4 separate regions of the Homo sapiens genome follow, and all the other regions are linked to region 3. Evidence: promoter capture Hi-C in human tissues and cell types (Jung and others, 2019). All regions are on one chromosome and are shown on one strand. The core of a region is centred on a gene start or on the middle of the fragment in contact, and the rest is flanking DNA. Distances in the headings are between cores, read along the strand shown. Region 1 overlaps GRK3 (G protein-coupled receptor kinase 3). Region 2 has its middle 30 kb from the start of GRK3. Region 3 holds the start of MYO18B (myosin XVIIIB). Region 4 has its middle 8.3 kb from the start of GRK3.

The links. Contacts are between HindIII fragments. The study calls those that stand out against the background at their distance.
Region 1: a fragment that was not itself captured here is called in contact with the fragment with the promoter of MYO18B in region 3 in 5 of the 25 tissues and cell types used here (dorsolateral prefrontal cortex, heart right ventricle, mesenchymal stem cells and 2 more).
Region 2: a fragment that was not itself captured here is called in contact with the fragment with the promoter of MYO18B in region 3 in 1 of the 25 tissues and cell types used here (dorsolateral prefrontal cortex).
Region 4: a contact is called between a fragment that was not itself captured here and the fragment with the promoter of MYO18B in region 3, in 1 of the 25 tissues and cell types used here (lymphoblastoid cells).

What each region holds. Positions count from the first base shown.
Region 1 is chr22:25,574,445-25,579,794 of GRCh38, reverse strand. All of the region lies in intron 1 of GRK3 (G protein-coupled receptor kinase 3), which reads right to left. Among named protein-coding and RNA genes, the nearest start is that of GRK3-AS1, 12 kb to the right of the region's middle. The HindIII fragment of the contact is 6,370 bases long and covers 1-4,710 here.
Region 2 is chr22:25,532,020-25,537,941 of GRCh38, reverse strand. No RefSeq gene overlaps it. Among named protein-coding and RNA genes, the nearest start is that of GRK3, 30 kb to the left of the region's middle. The HindIII fragment of the contact is 3,727 bases long and covers 1-3,489 here.
Region 3 is chr22:25,739,760-25,744,955 of GRCh38, reverse strand. It overlaps MYO18B (myosin XVIIIB), which reads right to left and starts at 2,768. Exons shown (of 44, transcript NM_032608.7): 1 at 2,663-2,768. The HindIII fragment of the contact is 19,978 bases long and covers 1-5,196 here.
Region 4 is chr22:25,553,789-25,559,047 of GRCh38, reverse strand. No RefSeq gene overlaps it. Among named protein-coding and RNA genes, the nearest start is that of GRK3, 8.3 kb to the left of the region's middle. The HindIII fragment of the contact is 4,555 bases long and covers 1,652-5,259 here.

The DNA.
Region 1 (5,350 bases), core at 276-2,775, 160 kb after region 3:
TTCTTCTGTAAAGAAGTCCCCTCGGCCAGGCTCGGTGGCCCACTCCTATAATCCCAGCACTTTGGGAGGCTGAGGCGGGCAGATCACGAGGTCAGGAGATCGAGACCATCCTGGCTAACGCGGTGAAACCACGTCTCTACTAAAAATACAAAAAATTAGCCGGGTGTGGTGGTGGGTGCCTGTAGTCCCAGCTACTCAGGAGGCTGAGGCAGGAGAATGCCGTGAACCCGGGAGATGGAGCTTGAAGTGAGCTGAGATCATGCCACTACACTCCAGCCTGGGGGACAGAGTGAGACACCATCTCAAAAAAAAAATAATAAAAATAAAAAAAGAAGTCCCCTCATTCATTGGTCGGGCACAGAGGCTCAAGCCTGCAATCCCAACTTTTTGAGAGGCTGAGGTGAACAGATCATTGAGCCCAAGAATTCTCGACCAGCCTTGGCAACATGGCGAAACCCCATATCTACCAAAAAAAAAAAAATTAGCCAGGCATGGTAGCATGTGCCCTTAGTCCCAGCTATGTGGGAGGATCAGTTGAGCCCAGGAGGTTGAGCCTGAAGTGAGCTGTGATCACACCACTACTGTACTCCAGCCTGGGTGACAGAGCGAGAGCGTGTCACAAAGAAAAAAAAAAAAAGAATTCCTGTCCTGCCACCCCAACCATCAACTAGGGTTCTAAATACCCTAAGAAGCAGTTTTTACAGGAAAGGCAGGATAAATGCTTAATTCTTTACCTTTTCAATTGCCACTATTCAGAGACAGAGTAGGTGCCTTGGTTCTACTGCTGGTGGTGATCAATGAGGTGTTCTCTTCTGTCTTGTTTGGGGATCTCTTGTGGATAGCATGAGATATCCACAAACTCATGCTTTGTTATTAGTTTGTTATTGCAGCCATAATAAATTACCACAAACTTGGTGGCTTAAATCAAGCAGAAATTGACTCTCTTACAGATCTGCAGGTCAGAGGTCTGAAATGGGCCTCCCTGGGCTGAGGTCGGTCAGAGTGTCAGTAGGACTGCGGTCTCACATGGAGGCTGTAAGGGACAGGCCATTTCCTTGCCTTTTCCAGATTCTACAGGCTGCCCACATTCCTCGGTCCATGGCCCCTTCCTCCTTCCTCAAAAGGCCAGCAGTGGTTGGTTGACTCATTCTCATGTTGCATCGCTCTGACACCAACTCTCCGCCTCCCTGGCGGTAACACTAGGGCCCACCTAGATAATCCAGGATAATCTCTTTATCTTAAACTCAGCACCTTAGCTGCTATGATGCCACCTACACCCCTAACGCCCCCTTGTCATATAACATAACATGTTCATAGGTTCTGGGGATTAAGATGTGGATATTTCAGGGGGGCATCATTCTGCCCACCACAGGGGGTTTGTATCAGTCATATTCTTTTGATGTTCAGGGTGTCTCACTTTTAGCCAGTGGAAACCCCTTCTTCTGGCCTCAGAGTTTGTTAGCGAAGGTGCCCACCACATTTCTTGGATGGCTCCTTTTTTTTCTGATACAACAGGTAACAGAGGGTCCAGGCTCATCTCACCCACACCTGGAGTCAGGCGCAGGTGTATGAGGTGCCTATGTGATGGAAATGCAATTGTTTCTTCGATTTTTTTAAAGACTGGGGATGATAAGCACACATATTTGAAAAAAAAATCATGAATTTCAAATAACCTTCCAATTCAAATTTGATCTTACAGAATTTTTATTTAACTCTTATCTTGTACTCATGTATCTCTTCATTTACACTTAAATTCTTGGTTCTAACCAAAAATGACATTATTCTTTTTTGTTTTACCCAAATATATATATGAAATAATTGTTTATATGAAATAATTTCAAACTAAAAATAATATTACTCTTAACAGTAAAGCTTCTGAATAAAATTAGAATTTCTTTGCAGCTCTACGTAGAGTAGACTATGCCCATATCTTACTTATTTCTAGGTGTCTATCTTAGAGAAAGGCTCACACATAGACCCAAAGGCACCTATGTAAGAACATTCACTGCAATTGCTCTTGGGCTTATGAGCACAGGGTCAAGTAGATCAGAGTTCTGACATCTCATGCAGCAATTCCAAACACTGAACAGATCTATATACTGCTGACGAGGAAAAGCTCCACGTGCATTACTAGGTGAAGAAGGCAAAAGCCATAAGTGGATTTACTAATGTGCTCCTGACAAATACAACTCTGTCCCAAGCTGAGCTCAACAACCTTTCTGGGTAGGGGTTAGATATGCAACCCGCTCCATTAATTTTCCATCACAATTTAGAATGAACTGCTAATGAGTGCCAAGTTTAACATTAAAAATCCTTTACGGGCCAGGCACGGTGGCTCATGCCTGTAATCCCAACACTTTGGGAGGCTGAGGCAGTTGAATCACTTGAGGCCAGGAGTTCGAGACCAGCCTGGGCAATGTGGCAAAACCCTGTCTCTACAAAAAGTAGAAAAATATTAGCCAGGCATGGTGGTGCACATCTGTAGTCCCAGCTACTCAGGAGGCTGAGGCAGGAGAATCAGTTGAACCTGGGAGGCGGAGGTTACAGTGAGCCGAGATCACACCGCTGCACTCCAGCCTGGGCAAGAGAGCGAGACTGTCTCAAAAAAAAAAAAAATCCTTTATTGTATCTAGAGTAACTGACAAACGTGTTCAAGTCAAGGATACTCATTTACCAACTGGCAGGCATGGAGATGAATTTTAATTAAGAATGCACCTAAAATCACAAAAAGATGTTTGGGGTAAGAAAACATTAAGAACTCATGACATGTAGCTTAGTTGGTTTCTCAAGTTATAACACTGCCATCATTATTAATAACAATCTTATTAGTTAACATGGAATCTATGACATCTTTTCTTCTAGGAAATTATTAATGTATTTATTATTAAGTTAACATGGCCAGTGAAATTATGCTACTGGAGCACTTCCTCAGACCCCTGCAGTGGATAATCTTTACTGAATGAATACAATGCATTTTCAAATTGTGTCACTAACGTCTGAAATTGACAGTGCTCCTCTAGTCAAATCCATGAGCCCCCTCCTCATAAAATAAGATTCACCAGGAAAAAGACAGTCTGAAGGTTTTTCTGAAAATACGCTGAATTTGGAATCAGAAAACCTGGATTTGAAGCTCAGCTGCACCATTTGTTATCAGCGCGACCTTGAGCAATTAGCTTCTCCCTGAACCTGAATTTCCTTCTTCTAAAATAAGATGATGAGTATTACAGAGCCATTTCCAAGAATCTCTAAATAAAGAAAAAAGCTTGCTCTCTGAGAATAAAAACTTTAAATCAATACATAACACAAATGGCCAAGAAATGGCAAAGGTTTCTGGTCTAGGCAGCTTTGGCAGTGGTTTCATGAACTATAGTCTCAAATCCAGTGGACGTGTGCCCACCAATTACAATGGGAAACATGAAAATATGGAAAGATGACTTGTCCCAAAGCCACTGTAGTCAGGGATTTCAGGTACTGGACATCCAGCGTAAGCCACTCCTAGGAGGGGTGACTTGGTCCCAAGTAACCATCTGACTCATCCGACTGTGGGTCTGTGCTCGCTATACCACCTTCTGATGGTCGTTTTGCTTCCCACAAGGGGGACCCACGAGAGAGAGCTCCAGCCACACAGACGCTGGGCACGTAGGCTCCTGTGGGAGCCAGTGTTTAATGCAATGTAGCAAACTGGACATTCTAGTTATAGTGTAGCTTTTCAGATAAATCTGTGTAAGTGAGTTAGCGCACTTTTGGGAGGGGGAGGCTCTCACTTAGTAGGATTCTCAAAAGGGTCTTTAATCTTAAAATAAGAACCAGAGGCCTATAGGAAGAGAATAATTTAGTCAGGCAGACTTGGCTGATTATGTGAGTTTCACAATAAGAGACAGATGCTTAGTACAGTGACATAATAAAATCTAGTTTCTGAGTCTGGAAGGCTGAAAGCCACTCCCTGCCCCACAGTCAAGACACTAGTATCTAAGGAGAAAACCAGCTGTCCTCAAACAGATAAAATATACCTCTCAATGTCTCCACATGGATGTATCTGGAGTAATTTTTTTCTTTTTAAAATTTCTACCTGCTACCAAGCATAATTGTAAAAACTAAAAAGAGTTAATATATATAAAACTATAAAACATCATCTACAAATCTTAGTGGGGTTTTTTTAAACTCTAAATAAATGACTATCTACCATGGGGTTTTCTTAAACTCTAAATAAATGACCATCCACTGTAATAAACACGAAATAAATGACCATCTACTGTCACTGGGTTTAATGAGCTAACCTTTATAACTACAGATCTAGAAGAGAAGTCCAGCAAGTTGGCCTCTCACTAAGATCATTTCAATACTGACCCAATTCAAACCCTAGTTCTAGAGCATAAGTTTCCTGAAAGTAAGGGAAAGAGGGTTGTGAAAGGCTAGCACCACTGAGCACTTCAAACTTGCCCTGCTGTTTCTATCTGCTCCACCATCATCTATGCTACCCCAGCTAGTCATAACCATAGGCCATAACGCTTCACTTAGAACTCTCATCTCAAAAGAAGGAGTTTCCAAATAAGCTTTTCTTATAGAGTAGCCTGAATTTTTAAAATATTTTGAAACATCAATCCAGCATCAAGCAGGTCACCTTACTTAAAGGACAGAAATGTGGAGAGTCAAGCTAGTTTTCCATGTGGAATTTAATAAGCCAGTCAACTAAATGATGAAACTCTAATAAATCCCTGTCCACAAAACTCTCGGTTTTATTTATTGGAGGGATGAAGAGAAACAACAAAGTCACCAACATACGTGTCCTCTCATTCATTGCTTAGAAACTGCTATTGTGCAATTTTTCTCTTCTATATTATTGGGATGTTTTGCATAAAAAACAAGCTTTTCTCCACTGCCACTAGAAACAAAACAGAAAGAAGCAGGTCCAAAATGGAACAAAAAAAGATAGCACAGAAATTTTGCACGCTATTCTAGACTTACTGGTGATGACGATATTTATTGCATGATTCTCTTCCCAGTTACTGTGTCATAATATAAAAAAAGACAAAGAAAATTCACTTGAAAAAGGTAGGACCAGGTTAAAGATGTGTATTAAAGTCCCTTGATCTTACTTAGCCATTAGGATTCGTTCCATTTTAAATAGAGAATAGACCCCGCCACCACCACCAAATACCTCATATTTTTTAAAAAAGATGTTTCCAAAATACCATCACGGCCTTAGACATTCACAAAGGAAAATGAAAGTCTGCAATATTTAACAGCTGTGTAAATGCCATTCCATGCAACTTTTAGTTTTTGGTTTTATTTGTTTCTTTGTATTTTGAGACGAGACCTCACTCTGTCAGGCTGCAGTGCAGTGACATGA
Region 2 (5,922 bases), core at 377-2,876, 210 kb after region 3:
ATGGTGTGTATGTACCACATTGTCTTTATTCAATCCACCATTGATGGGCACCTGGGTTGATTCCATGTCTTTGCTATTGTGACTAGAACTGAGATAAACATATGAGTGCATGTGCTTTTTGGGTGGATTGATTCATTTTCCTTTGGGTGTAGTTTTTTTTTTTTTTTTTTTTTTTTGAGATGGAGTCTCACTCTGTCACCCAGGCTGGAGGGCAGTGGCGTGATCTCGGCTCACTGCAAGCTCTGCCTCCCAGGTTCACCCCATTCTCCTGCCTCAGCCTCCCAAGTAGCTGGGACTACAGGTGTCCACCACCATGCCCGGCAAACTTTTTGTATTTTTAATAGAGAGGTGGTTTCACCGTGTTAGCCAGGATGGTCTCGATCTCCTGACCTTGTGATCCGCCCGCCTCAGCCTCCCGAAGTGCTGGGATTACAGGCGTGAGCCACCGCGCCCGGCCTCCTTTGGGTATAGTTTTAATAACCATTGAGGCCGGTGCAGTGGCTCATGCCTGTAATCCTAGAACTTTGGGAGGCCAAGGCGGATGGATCATCTGAGGTCAGGCGTTCGAGATTAGCGTGGCCAACATGGTGAAAACCCATCTCTATGAAAAATACAAAAATTAGCTGGGTGTTGTGGCGCACGCCTGTAATCCCAGCTACTCGGGAGGCTAAGGTAGGAGAATCGCTTGAACCAGGAGGCGGAGGTTGCAGTGAGCCGAGATTGGGCCGTTGCTCTCCAGCCTGGGAGACAGAGAGAGATTCCATCTCAAAAAAAAAAAAAAAAAAAACCCAAAAAAAACCATTGAGATAAATCAGTGAACATGAGAGTTACAGTGGAGTGGTCGATGGTATTGTTTGTTCATGACTCTTCTTTCTCTCCCACCTTGGCCATGGCTTCTCTTTAGAGAGTGTACGATGCTACCCCACTGACTTGAGCTGCCGCCCTGTGATTTACTTTGGCCAATGGCCCACAAGCAGAAATGATGCAAACAGAGGCTTTAAGTATATTTATGTGCCGTGGCTTAGCCTCTTGTATACTTGCTGTCACCATGATGAGTATGCTCCAAGTAGTCACTGCTCCTTTATCCTGGTCCTAACGTGAAAGACACACGGAGCTGTCCTGAATCTGAGCCCAGTTAACTGTGGCTGATATCCAGACCCATGGGAGAGAAATGAATGTTGTTTGTCACAAGCCGCTGAGATCTTGGGCTCACTGTGCAGCCTTATCCCAGCAACAGCTGACTACAAGTTGATTGTTACCAAAATATTTGGACACTACCCATGTTTCTTCTTTATTGTTTTATGGTGACTCAGTAGAAGATGAAGATATCTTTCTAGGAAAAGCAAGCAGTGCCCCTCCAAAGAGACAATCACAGTGGAAGAAGAGTTGATCTTACCCACAATATTTATGTCTTGTGCCACTCAAGAGTTTCCGTCAGTCTTTTCTTTGAATGCCCCCATTTTTTGTTTATTTCACTTATTATTTTTTCTTTGTAGTTATTAATCATCCAAACTGTAGGAACTTCTAGAGTGGCAGTGATGTGTTAAACAGAGCAGACACTTCACAGATATGATCCCTAGATCACGCAATATCTTTGTAAAATTTGCTTTATTGCCTTCAATTTACACATAAGGAAACAAAGGTCCAGAGATCTTAATTGCATCACACAGCTGGTAGGTAAGTAACAGCCTTCAGGCTCAGATGTATGCCTTTGGTTTCTACAATCTTTGTTTCAATATTGCAACTCTTTTATTTTATTTATTTTAGAGACAGGGTCTCGCTCTGTTGTTCCAGATGGGGTGCAGTAGTGTGATCATAATTCACTGCAGCCTCAACCTCCCAGCCTCAAGCAATCTTCTTGCCTCAGTCCCCCAAGTAGCTGGGGACTACAGGTGCATGCCACCACCCCTAGCTAATTTTTTAAATTTTTTTTTGTAGAGGTGGGTGTCCCTGTGTTGCCCAGGCTGGTCTCAAATTCCTGGCTTCAGCTTCCCAAAGTGCTAGGTGTGCCATCGTGCATGGCCTTATTTTTATTTTTATATATTTAGAGAGTACAAATGCAGGTTTCTTACATACATATATCCCATAGTGGTGAAATCTGGGCTTTTAGTCTACCCATCATCAGAATAGCGAACATTGTACCCAATAGGCAATTTTTCAACCCTCATGCCCCCTCCTACCCTCTCACCTTTTGCAGCCTCCAGTGTCTAGTGTACCCCGTATGTCCATGATTACAACTATTTTTAAAGTGGACAACTAGAACTATGGGATGGGTTCAGAAATGCATATCTAATGTGGGGTTCAGAGACACTGGAAGCTTGGTGAGAGAGGTACCTTTAGATAAGAAGATGTCTCAGAGATCCCCAAGCTACCACCTAATTTAACAGTGACTGTTTATTGAGCACTTTACATGCCAGGTGCACTATGCCTTGGAGAGGCAGAGATGTGCAAAGATTCACATGGTAAGGAGATTGAGTTTTGTTCTGAGGGTAAGGGGGATCCACAGAAAAGTTTTCAGTGAGGGCTATGAGGGAGCAGTAAGAAGGCAATTACAGGAGTCCAGGAAAATATTGGCCTGGACTGGGTTAAGGTAGTGGTGGGTAGAGAGAGGTTCAAAAGGCACTTGGCACAGGCAAAAAAAAGAAAGAAATAGACAAACCGAACTTCATGAAAATTAAAAACTTTGGTGCATTGAAGGACATTCTCAACACAGTGAAAAGGAAACCTATAGAATGGGAGAAAGTATTTGCAAGTCATATACCTGATAAGGGATTCATATCCAGAATATATAGAGAACTCCTACAACTCAACAACAACAAAGGCCAAACAACCCAGTTCAATCCAAACAACTTGAATAGACATGTCTCTGAAAGGGATATACAAATGCCAATAAGCACAAGAAAAGATGCTTAGAATCACTAATCATTAGGGGAATGGCAACCAAAACCACAGTGAGATACCACCTCACACCCATTAGGATGGCTACGATCAAAAAAACAGAAAATGACAAGTGTTGGCGAGGATGTGGAGAAATGGGAACACCTATGCCCTGCTGGTGGGAATGTAAAATGGTACAGTCTCTGTAGAACACAGTATGGCAGTTCCTGAAAACCGAAATAGAATTTTCACATCATCTAGCAATTCCTCTTTAGAGTATATACCCAAAAGAATAGGAAGCAGGGTCTTGAAGAGTTGTTTGTACACTAATGTCCACAGCAACATCATTCACAAGAGCTGAAAACTGTGGAAGCAACCCAAATGTCCATCCACCAATGAAAGGATAAGTAAATGTGGTATATCCATACAAAAGAATACTAGTCAGCCTTAAAAGGGAAGGAAATTCTGGCACATGCTACAACATGGATAAACCTTGAGGATACTATGCTAAGTGAAATAAACCAGTCACAAAGAGGCAAATACTGTATGATTCGCTTATGTGAAATACTTAGAGTTCTCAAAATCATAGAGACAGAAAGTAGAATGGTGGTTGCCAGGAGCTGGGGGTTGGGGCGAATGAGGAGTTACTGTTTTATAGTCTCAGTTTTACAAAATGAAAAGGGTTCTTAAGATAGACTGTCGTGACAGTTGCACAACAATATGAATGTACATTTAATATCACTGAATTGTACACTAAAAAATTAAGGTGGTAAATTGGCCGGGTGCTGTGGTTCATGCCTATAATCCCAGCACTTTGGGAGGCTGAGGCGGACAGATCACCTGAGACCAGGAGTCTGAGACCAGCCTGGCCAAAATGGTGAAACCCCGTCTCTACTAAAAATTCAAAAATTAGCTGGGTGTGGTGGTGGGTGCCTGTAATCCCAGCTACTCAGGAGGTTTAAGCAGGAGAATTTCTTGAACCCGGGAGATGGAAGTTGCTGTGAGCTGAGATCACGCCACTGCACTCCAGCCTGGGCAACAGAGCAAGACTCTGTCTCAAAAAAAAAAAAAAAGAAGGAAAAAGAAAAATAAAAAAGTGGTAAATTTTATGTTAAGTGTATTTTACTACAATTAAAAATCAAAATAAATAAGTGATATTTTACAGGCACTTAGGAAGTAAAACAAGTAGGGCTGGTTCTCATTTATTGCATGCAGGTGGACGGGGCTAAGGAAAAGAAAGGAATAAAAGCAAATCCCAGATTTCTGGCTCTGGCACCCGCATTACTAGTAGCAGCATTCTTTAAGACAGGGAGTACTAGGGAAGGATTCATCCCTCCACACATTTGCCTTTGGCTGGTATGTCTCTTTAGTCTCCTTTATCTATGGCTTCTGCCTCTGCCTATTTTTTAAAATTTTCCTTGCAATTGACATATTTTTTAAAACTGAATCATTTGCTCTGTAGAGTACCTCACAATCTGGGTTCCATTGGTTGTATTCTTGTGGCATCTTTTAATATGTTGTTCCTTCTCTTGTATGTCCTGTAAATTGGTCATTAGATTTAAAGATTTGATCTGATTCAGGTTTGAGTTTTCAGCAAGAATATTTCGTAGTTAGTTGTATTATTCAATCAGCAGGCTCATAACGTCTGGCCGTCTCTCTTCGGGGGATTTTAGTAGCCGATGATGCATTGCCTAGAGCCATTATTTCCTTAGGCACTTGCAAAATGGCTCTATTTTAAGTCTATCACTCCTTCCTATTCGTTGGGCTGCTTCTATGGAGAAAGCTTTTCTTCATCGACTAAGATACAGTACCTACAGGAAAGGCAAGATAAATGCTCGATTCTTTTATTTGCCAATTTTCAGAATAATAAGTTGGTTCTTTAAAATACCTTCCAAAGGAGGCCAGTGAATTTTGGTTTGATTTGTTTTGTTTTTAGGATCATTGTTAACTCATGGAGTTTAGAATAGTTCATGCGTTTCACCGCATTGTAGTTATTCTTCTTTCAGATGCTCACAGAATTTCATCTTTAGCCAGCGAGAGCCAAGTGGGTTGGTTCCTGAGCCCTTTTGACACAACCATAGTAATCTTTGATAGCCTCCTTTCTTCTGATTAACAAGATGTCCTAAGATCATCTTGTACATTTCCTACCCCACTCTTGGAATCAGCCATTTCTCCCAGGAGCTGTAATTCCTTTCACTTTGAAATTGTTCTTAGAGACCATAATCAGTGTAATAGCTGGGTTGGTCATTGTTTCTAGGTAGTAGGTTGGTGCAAAAGAATTTGCAGTTTTTGCCATTACTTTTAATGGCAAAAGCTGCAATTACTTTTGCACCAACCTAAAATTTCAATAATCAAAACTAGGAAGTAAAAATTTTAAAAAAGAAATGCATCATAAGTTCATACTATTTCCCGTTCAAATTTAGGATTACAAGGCTTCATTCACTTAGGTGATCTTGTATTTTTATATGTTTTCTCTTATGCTGAAAATCTTAGTTGCTGACAACACTAATTTACCAATCTATTTATTTTACCCACTATGTATTAAAATAACAATACCAATATTTTTGCTAATAGTATGATTAATGAGAATAGTTTCTTTCTTTTTTTGTTTTTATTGTTATTTTGTACAGTCAAATTGCTGTGCTTAAAGTCACATATATGTGGTTAAGTCACTAAGCCAACACAGTTAGGTTCATTTGTTTCATTTTCCTTTCAGTTTTAAAGAATTAATTTTCATTTTCTTTTTGACTTTTTATCATTGTAGAAGAAACTTACATGATTCCCGAGTCAAATCTATAAAATGATATATTTTCAGATGTTAGTATTTTTAAATATGTCATCCATATCTCTCAGACTGCTTTTTATTGTCTAGAAAACGTTAGGTTTTACCTACCAATGAAGAGAAATAAGACTGTCATTCAGACTATTAGAAATGATGAGGTATTTTTATGAAAAGAAACATATTCAACCTTGAAATTAGAAACCATTTTTGTTTCCCCTAACAAGGGCCTGTCTCTCAATTTCCCACAGTTTCAAAGCCCCACT
Region 3 (5,196 bases), core at 1,519-4,018:
GCAGGGGCTGATCTTGGCCCAATGCTCTTGCTGCAGGGCTGTGTGTCCTTGAACAAGTGGCTTTCCCTCTCTGTGCCTCAGCTGCACCATCTCTCAACAGGAGGGGTTGGATTTGGCAGCACTCTGGAGGGGAGGGGGATCCTCCCTGGTCTCAAACCCACCTCCTCCATTTTTCAGAAAATTTAATTTCATTTTGTTTATTTTTATTTTTATTTTTATTTTTGAGACGGAGTCTCTCTCTGTCCCCAGGCTGGAGTGCAATGGCGTGATCTCGGCTCACTGCAAGCTCCACCTCCCAGGTTCATGCCATTCTCCTGCCTCAGCCTCCCAAGTAGCTGGGACTACAGGCACCCACCACCACGCCCGGCTAATTTTTTTTTGTGTTTTTAGTAGAGACGGGGTTTCACCGTGTTAGCCAGGATGGTCTCGATCTCCTGACCTCGTGATCTGCCCACCTCGGCCTCCCAAAGTGCTGGGATTAAAGGCGTGAGCCCCCGCGCCCGGCCACTTTGTTTAAATATTAAAGATATGCCACACACCACAGCAGCTGACCATGTGCTTCAAATGGGCCATTCAGACAGTTGTTTGTATCTAGCAGGACCCAGTGAAGGGCCATCTCCCCATAGCCTTGTAGGCTCACAGCCCCAGGTCCCTATCTTTTGGCAGCTGGAAGTGGTTCTGCTCAGTTTGGGGGCCCTCCATTCCCACCTCAAAATGCCATAGAAAGTCTTGATCTTACCCCTGGAGGAACACCTGCCCAATAAAATCTTTGCGATAGTTAGACCCTAATAAAGTGCTGTGCACGTTTTCCATGTTTGTGAAACATGGAAATTCCATGAGTTTTGACAGGGCAGGTGCTGAGCAACAGCCTTCTGTGGTTTTGTTAGCTCAAGTGAAAGGAAAAGCTCTTCTCCAATTTGGGTGGGCACCAGAACCACCTGTGAGGTTTAAAATCTGTGGATTTCTGGGCCCCTTCCCCCAAGACTGTTCAAAAGGTCTAGGATGAACCCAGGAATCTGCATTTTAAAACAGCCCCCCGCCTCCTGCCCCACATGAGTCTGATGGGTAGGTCGTCAACGACCGTCACTTCAAGAAAAACCTTCCTGGATGCTGAATCCTAGGAAAGATCCCAGAGGTGGTCTAGCCCAACCCCCTCAGGTTTTAGAAGGAGAAACTAAGTTCCGACTGGGGAGAGTACTCATCCAAGGTTACAGAGCCCACACCAGGATATTCAAGGTGACCAGGCCTGGAGGCAGGTGACATCAAATATTTGTTGATTGGTAACATGCAGCCCTTCAAAAGCCAGGAGACCAGGAGACTCCCTCTCCTCCTCCTCTTCCTCCTTCTCCTCCCTCCTCCACCCACTTGGCCTTTTCTTTTGGCCTTTTCCTTTGCTATTATTCTTCTCCTCCTTCTTCTCTTTCTCCTCCTGCTTTTTTCCTCCTCCTCCTTCTCTTCTTCTCCTTCTCCTCCTCCTCTTCCTTCTTTTCTCTCTCTCCTCTCCACTATTATTTTCTAGAACTCATCCATAGCCTAAGAGTATATAGACCCCTCTCTTTTCTGCTCCCAAGGTACACACTGGACATGGTACCCAGGCATAGGAGAATACAACTTAGGTCAGCAATGGATACAGCACCCAAGGCCACCATTATCCTTGTTGGAGTCTAGAAGCCCTAGTGGGACACTCAGCCTCCATGAGCTGGTGCACTGAATGAGGCAGCATCTTTTTGGACAGCCACAAAGTGAAAGTAACAGCCTCGTCGTATTCCAGGCCCTACAGGATAGAAGCCCAGATCCCCACACTTGCGGGTTGAGGCCAGACTGGACAGCTTGGAGCCGACTGGGAGCCGACTGGGCTCCCCATTCCGGGCCTCCCCACTCCTGGCCTCCTCCATGGAAAAGCTGCAGGAAGGCAGCAGCCCAGAGGCCTGTAGCTGGTGAGGTCTTCTCCTCTCCTGGGAGAGAGCTCCATGTCAAAGCATAGCCCCCTTCTGCCCCACTATGGGGCCACTGGGACCTGTGAATCTTCTTCATTCAGAGAAATGCCTGCTATCCGGGGTGCCAGATAAGACACCTTCCCTCAGACAGAGCTCAAGGAAGGTGGCATGAAATTGAAACCTTCAGCCATGAACTTCCATTGCCCTTCCCCCAACACTCATACATGCTTAATTTGCAGTTTAAAAAAGAACATTAAAATTAACATTTCGACTCAACAGCGTTGTTAACACGAAAGGGGAAGCCTGGCTCTTCCCCGACCATAACTGAACACCAGTGAAGCAGAAATTACTGGTAGTTGAGGAAAAATATAAACCCTGACGTCTGCGGGCAAAGATTCACAGTGGAGATTAACTCATGATTCTAAACACATTTTTAAAAATTATTAGCGAACAGCTGGGGCCTGAGGAGAGTGATTCTTACGAATGTCCATTTGCCCCAGCATTTTGTTCTCAAATCCTTCCACCGAAACACTCTTGTTTTCAAAGTGAGCAGCACGGGCAACAGGCAAAGGAATCAGGCCTCGGAAGCTCTCAACACCAGAAAGGCCTAAAATAGACCAAAAGACCGGAGGCCTGCCACCGCAGCCCCCAGCAGCGCATTCCGGAAAATTAAAACTCGCCGATCCGCTCGCAAGGTGCCCGTCTAAAACCCAGCCCAATAGTACCTTCTGCAAAGAGGACACAGATCACAGGAACCACGACTGTCTAAGACGTCTCCCCGGGTGGCCGCGAAGGGACCCCACCGAGCCGGGAAAGCAGGAGCGAAGGAGCACCCTCTCCACACACACCGACACACATCCCTTCCCCTTACTGCCCCTCCCCGACCCGTCCTCCCCCCACCCTCCTTCTGGGCCAATGTGATAGCAGCAGCTGAGTCGACCAGTCATTTCTAAAATTAGCTTGTGAGCTCCAGGTCTGGCCAGGAGACGGCAGCCCGGGGTGGCCGTTGACCAGGCAGCAGAGACCATGGACATATTTGGTGGCCCCTGAGCAGGGAAGGGGACAGCTCTGGACACAAGCACATGCTCTCTCGTCATCCCTGTCCCAGGGCAGGGCCACACACCCACACTCCCGCCTCTGCCCACACAGATAACCAGAGGTTGCAGGAACTGTTTGAGGAGGAGAGCTGGCCGGTTCTACATTCCAGGCAGACTCTGGAAGAAAATAACTTGAATGAATGCTGGTGCGTCGTGGTAAACAACCAGTGCATGTAAACATACCTTATGCTTAGGTAGTGGTTATCGCATGCCACACACCGAGGGCTTTCATGAACTCACTTAATGTTCCCTATGAGGTAGGGTTTTTCCCCAGCCCCACTTTACAAGTGGGGAAATTGAGACACAAAAAGTTAACCAACTTGCCCAAGGCCATGGAGAGCCAGAATTCAAACCCAGGCTGTGCGGGCCGTAGAGGAAACAGACACAACAGCAAACTAGGGGCTATAAAAAAGTGCTTTGGGCCTGGCACGGTGGCTCACGTCTGTAATCCCGGCACTTTGGGAAGCCGAGGTGGGCATATCACGAGGTCAGGAGATTGAGACCATCCTGGCTAACACAGTGAAACCCCGTCTCTACTAAAAATACAAAAACAAAATTAGCCGGGCGTGGTGGTGGGCGCCTGTAGTCCCAGCTACAGGCGGAGCTTGCAGTAAGCCGAGATCGCGCCACTGCACTCCAGCCTGGGTGACAGAGAGAGACTCCATCTCAAAAAAAAAAAAAAAAATCAGCTGGGTGGGGTAGTGGTTGTCTGTGATCCCAGCTACTTGGGAGGCTGAGGCAGGAGAATTGCTTGAACCCAGGAGGCGGAGGTTGCAATGAGCTAAGGTCACGCCACTGCACTCTAGCCTAGGCGATAAGAGACTCTATCTCAAAAAAACAACAACAAAAAAAGTGCTTTGTCCACTGCCTAAAAGGAGCAAAGTACAGACTTCAATAAATTGGATAAACCATGCAGGTCCATGCAGCTAGCAAAGGGTAGAGTCATGACTCAAATCCAAGTCTTTCTGGTTCCAAAGACCGCAATCAGCCCAGCATGATACTGCTCCTGTGAGAATTGTTTCAATAATTGCTATGTGGTGCTGCTCCTCTTTCCCCAGAGCTCATCGAGCAATATTTTCCCAAAGTACTCACTTCTGCCGAGGTCTTGAAAATTAGCATTCAATCAGAAGTTCATTGAAACACTAAGGGAAGGCTGCTTAGAAAATGGCAGTCTAGGCCGGGTATGGTGGCTCACACCTGTAATCCCAGCACTTTGGGAGGCTAAGGCGGGTGGATCATTTGAGGTCAGGAGTTTGAGACCAGCCTAGCCAACATGGTGAAACCCCACCTCTACTAAAAATACGAAAATTAGCTGGGCGTGGTGGCGGGCACCTGTAATCCCAGCAACTCGGGAGGCTGAGGCAGGAGAATAGCTGGAACCCAGGAGTCAGAGGTTGCAGTGAGCAGAGATGGCGCCATTGCACTCCAGCCTGGGCGACAAGAGCAAAACTACATTTTGAAAAAAAAAAGAAAAGAAAAGAAAGAAAAAGAAAATACAATATACATAATATACATGAGGTTGAGGAGGGGTCCCTGCGGCCCCCAGTGGAGAGTGGCATGGGACATTTAGGCCACACCAGGGGAAGAGTTTGGAGACAGGTCCCGGTGAGCTGTTTTCTCCAGGTTGTGCTAGATCATTTGACATTGAAACAAGAACCTCCCTTCTCCCGCCCCTTGCATCACAAGTCCTGAACCATTGGCTCCTGGGCTTTTCTGTCCTTGCTGTCTTTCCGACGCTGTTGGTCTGAAGTGGTAGAGTTGACATGCAGAAATGATTCTCTGGGCCCAGGGCTGGGACTCTCTATAGGCCATGACCTGCAGTGATGGTTCCGTTGACTTGAAGGGACCTCCGTTCCCCAAGGAGTCAACATGGCATGTGTTTGCTCCATTCACCTTGTTGGTACCTGTGGTGGGTGGATTTTTGCTACACAAGATGACCAAGTATTACCTTGAGCACACGGTGATTTAGGGCAGCCCTTATAAGCAAGATTTTGTCACCCAGCTGAGCATTTACTGTCCAGTCTCCAGGCTTCATTCCCCAGGCTGGGGGAAAAGACGAGAAGGTGGAGGCTTTCTTATCAAGGCATCCAGAGAACCGGCTGCTTTGGGCTCATCTGATCCAGTTGGCGTGGTGTCATGGAAAGAGTGGATCGTGGTGCTAT
Region 4 (5,259 bases), core at 2,680-5,179, 190 kb after region 3:
TATAGAGCAGTTCATGAATAGAGATTCAAACAGGTCACACTCAATTATGAAATCAGGGTGCCTGGGCCAGGCCTGGCATAACCCTGATCTCAGAGGACCACCCCTACCCTCCCCAGGGAGCCACCAGAGAAGCTGTCACATGCTCCTAAGACGTGCTTGCCACCAGCACCCCCAGACACTTATGTGCTGAAATTGCCAACATGCAGATTCGGATTCAGAGGTCCAATCAGGGCCTGAGAATCTGCACTCCTTGCAAGCCCCCAGGTGGTGCCAACACAGCAGAAACATTGACATCTTAGGCCCCACCACAGACTTAAGCCAAATCTGCACTGGAACAAGATGCCCAGGCAATCTCCCACCCTGAAGTTGTTCAGACTGGCCTCACTTAGGGGAGGGAGTTCCAGATTAGAGAAAGGTCAGATCAGCGGAGCCCAGATGGACAGCCACCAGACAAAGGAGGAGAGGAGGGAGAGGCAGGTCAGAGAGATCAGCCGGCCTTGATTCTGCAGCACCTGGAGCCACAGTGGGAAATTGAAGCTATCCTCGGGGCACCAGAAAGCCAGTGGAAGGTTTCCAAGAGGAGAGTGACAAAATCAGATGGACCATTTTATAGGATTCTTCTGGCTGGGGATGCAGATCCAGTTGGAGGCAGGGGGGGATAGTTGAATTAAGGGAGGCGCTAGAGAGAGCTAGGGTAGCAGTCCAAGAGACCCAGATGAGGGTAGCTGCAGTAAGCAGACCAGCACATCACTCATGGTCCAGGGTGATTTGCAGGCCTCTGAAGCAGCCAAGTACAAAACGAAGGCCCTCCCACTTCCCTTCTCCCTGGACCAGATCTCTCTGACTTCTCACCTGGAAGGTGCCCACAGGTTGCCAACTCCTTGTCCTGTTTCCAAACCCTCCCTCCTTCAATCCATCTGACACTCTCCTGCCCCTGCTCAAAAACCTTCAATAGCTCCCCATTGCCTGCCAAATGATCTGCTAACTCCTCCACCCACACTGTTATGTTCTACTTCTATGTCTGCCTAACCCGTGACACAGTAGTTCACACTTTCATTCATGCAACAAATATTTATTGAGTATCATCAATGTGGCAGGCACTAAAAAGAAACCACTCATCTGCCAAGGCACATAATCAATTTCAGGAGGCTTATAGCCACACTGAAATGCTCTTCCAAATAAGTGCTTTGGCTGTAGCAAATGAAAATAATAATAGAAAACACTTATTAAATACTAACTTTGTGCCAACTATCATGTTAAACACTTTGTGGGACTATCTTAATAATCTTCCTCAGACACCTATAATGGAGAGGGTTGGCCTCATTTTTCGTTTTGTGGGTTTTTGTTTTGTTTGTTTGAGACAGGGTCTCACTCTGTCACCAAGGCTGGATTGCAGTGCTGTGATCTCAGCTCACCGTTGCCTCAACCTCCTGGGTTTAAGCAGTCTTCCCACTTCAGCCTCCCAAGTAGCTGAGACCACAGGGATATGTCACCATGCCTGGCTTTTTTTTTTTGTCTTTTGGGGGGTGCTACCATGTTGCCCAGGCTGATCTTGAACTCGCGAGCTCAAGCAATCCACCCGCCTCAGCCTCCCAAAGTGCTGAGATTGCAGGCGTGAGCCACTGTGCCCAGCTGGTTGGGCTCATTTTAGCCAAAAGAAAAATCTCAAGTCACTTGCAACGTAAGTGCAACAACTAAATTCATAGGGTATGAATTCAGGCAGTCTCAACCCAGGACTTCTCCCTCAACCCCTGTCCTCTGAATGTCCTTGTACTCTAAGTCATGGGGCTGTGAGTGAAACAACATCAAATAAGGCATGTTAAAGTGCACAATAAAACCCCATTCAAATTCTCTTTCCGACTCACCTCATGCTAATCCCAAGTCCTCCCATGATGCCCGGGTCACACCGACCAAGCAATTCCAACCTTGAGGGTTTTGTCTTCCTTTTCCATTTGCCTGGAACACTCTCCTTCAAGGCCTTGTTTTGGCCTCTCACCATTCAGATCTCTGCTCAGATATCACCCCTGGCATCTCTGGGAGAGAAGCCACTGAGACACTTGTAGGCAATAATGGAAATCTGCCAAAAATTCTCTTGGTGGGCTCCTATCACGTTCTAAGCCCTTTTCTCCTGTTTCCTTTTTTCTGTCTTCCTCTCCACTTCCTCCCACCTCCCCTTGCCCCTTTAGCCCTTCAAGAACAAGTGCCTCTCTCTTCTCCTCCGTGTTCTCCTCCTTAATCAAAAGCTGCTCTCATCAAAAGATGTCCTGTCCATCATATACGCCTTAGTGTGAATTTGTTGGTAGGTCAATTTTCCCAGAAATGTCTGATTTATTTTTATTTTTTATTTTTTTTTTAATTTTTTTGAGACCAGGTAAGTCTTGCTCTGTCACCTAGGCTGGAGTGCAGTGGTGCGATCTCGGCAATCTCAGCACCCTGCAACCTCAACCTCCACCTCCCAGGTTCAAGCGCTTCTCCTGCCTCGGCCTCCCGAGTAGCTGGGATTATAGGCATGTGCCACCATGCCCAGCTAATTTTTGTATTTTTAATAGAGATAGAGTTTCACCATGTTGGCCAGGCTGGTCTCGAACTCCTGGCCTCAAATGATCTCCCTGCCTTGGCCTCTCAAACTGCTGGGATTACAGGTGTGAACCACCACACCCGGCCAGGAGTGTCTGAATTTTAAACCATATGCTTGATTATAAAATAGTAGAGTTTGCCTTTCTTAAAGGAATTTCATACAACTGGGTTGCTAGTTTGTGTGTGTGTGTGTGTGTGTGTGTGTGTGTGTGTGTGTGTGTGTGTGTGTGATATGTTAGGGGCAGCAGGTTTTTCCTTAACGCCAGGAATCATTCAGGCTGACTTTGTTCAGCTGGAATAATTTCAGGCATCGTGATACAGTTGAAAGGAAAGAGGATGAACATTAAAATAAGGAAGGCCTCAATTTGAATCTCGCTTCTGACAGTACTCGAACGATCTTAGACTAAGTGATTTCACTCTGACTCCCAGTTGTCTCTTTTATAATGTGAGGGTAATTAACTATTGTAAAGATTATTGTAAGAGCTAGATGAGATCACAGGACACACCATAAGGGCTCAGTGGGGCTGGAATGCGTGAAGTCCTCTTTGGAGCAGTCAGGCCTGATGGACCCCGTGCCTGGGCTCGAAGACACCTACACACACTCCCAGGGCCCCCACTGCTTATAACTGTTTCTGGAAAGAACTGAGCATGAAACTTGGCAGGAGACCACAAAACGTCCTGGAATCCTGGCCACTGTCAAGTCTAGAATGCTCTCCTCCAGAGAATCACATTCTTGGGGCCAGTGTTGGAGCATGGAAGACTTAGTTGGGGATTGGAACTGCTCCAGCCCTGAAGCCCTCCTTCCTGTCCCTGTAACCAGCAAATGTCACTGTCTGTCTTGCCAGGCTAACAACCTTTCTCATAAGCATCACCAAACCTGACCAGACATCAGTCCTCTGAAAAGAATCATAATCCAGCCACCATAAACCCAAAAGCCAAAGTGGTAATTATCTAAAGATGAGGAAAGGTTTCCTCCCAGGCCCTCCAGGGGCCAAGGAAGTTCTCACATTAAACAGTTACACTGATCTCCATTGATTTCTTCAGTCCATCAACCAATTATTGGCAACTTTTTCTTGGAAACCTACTGTATGTGAGGTACCGGGATGACAGTGGTGGACAGGTAGACACCCTCCACCTTCATGGAATAACATATTTGCAGGGGGGTGCATTGGCAGTTAATTGGTTAATTTATTAAAATTGTGCTATGAGCCAAAATGATGTAATAGATGTCTTTGAAGAGCCCACAGTTGGTTGTGGGTCCAGGAGGCCTTCTCTGAGGAGGTGACATTTAAGCTGAGAATGGAAGGAGGAACAGAAGGGGGTCAGAGACAGCCTCCAGGTGGACCATACAGCCAGGCAAAGGCCCTGGGCGGCAAACAAGGAGCATAGCTGGGAAGCAAAGAGTAGGATGTGTGATGACACCTGAGACTGGGCAGAGGCCAGACCCTGCAGGGCCTTGGAGGCCACACCAAAGAGCTGGGTCTTTGTCCTGAGAGCAATGAGAAGCCAGAGATGGGCTTTCAGCAGGGACGTGACATGACCCAATTGACCTTATGAAAGAGAACTCTGACTGCTCTCTGGATAATAACCTTTCCCTCCCTTTAACACAGTCCAGAAAAGGCATGTGTGGGGGTGGGGAGCCGGCTGGATTTTTCTGGAGGACTTTCTTTATAAACTGCTTTAAATAGAAATGAGAGGAAGCAAACAAATGATAGCTCTGTCCATCCAGGCCTTAATTTTTCTAAACAAACAAGAACCATGGGCAACTGCAGGCAAAAGTGTTTCCACCCTTGAGGTCTTGAAAAGAAAAGTCCCAGTCTGTTTCACCTCTTCCTCAGAAGTGCAGGGAACAGTGTGTGCTATGCAAATAGATGCCACATACAGATGGTAACTTGTTGGGCTAATTGGCTGGGGGCAAAGGCTCTCTGGGGCTCACCCAGGGATGGTGTATTTGACAACATCTGACCTCTCCCCTGTGCTCACTGATCTTTCTTACTCCATCAGTCCAGCTCCCATCCATGTGGACACTGAGCACATGATCAGGAAGCTTCCCAGGCTGAATACTTGCTCAAGAAATGTTGCTGCAGCTAACAGCCCACTGGGGAGTCTTTGTGACTCTTTTGATCCCCCCTTAGAATCTAGCAAATTGCAAGAGAAAAAGCAATTTCCCAAGACTGGAATTACAATCCCGATGTCATGGGATGTTTGGCTCAGAAAGCCTTCATCTGCTTGTCATGAGTTATGGGATTTCAGCAGCTCTCCAGGGAGTTTTCTCCCATCTACTAATGGTGTGGTTGTCTGTCACCAGCACTTAAACTGGGTGAGATATGTTGGCTGATATGATATTGTGATTTATAAAGATTAATAGATATTCTTATTACATATTCATATATATTAATATCATGTATATATTAAATATTCATGTATATATACATTTGGTCTTCATCCATTTCCTGGCACAGAGCTCCTAAAATCCTTGGAACCTCCAAAATGTTAAGAGTGTCTTTTGTATGTTAGTGAGATGACTGGTGGCTAGGGTCCCTAGACAACTTCAAGATGGGGACTGGTTACCCACAAAACCAAGGCATGATTAGACGGTTGAGACTAAAAAACAAAAATAGGATCTGGCTCTGTTGCCCAGGCTGGAGTGCAGTGGTGTGATTACTGCAGCCTCAACCTCCC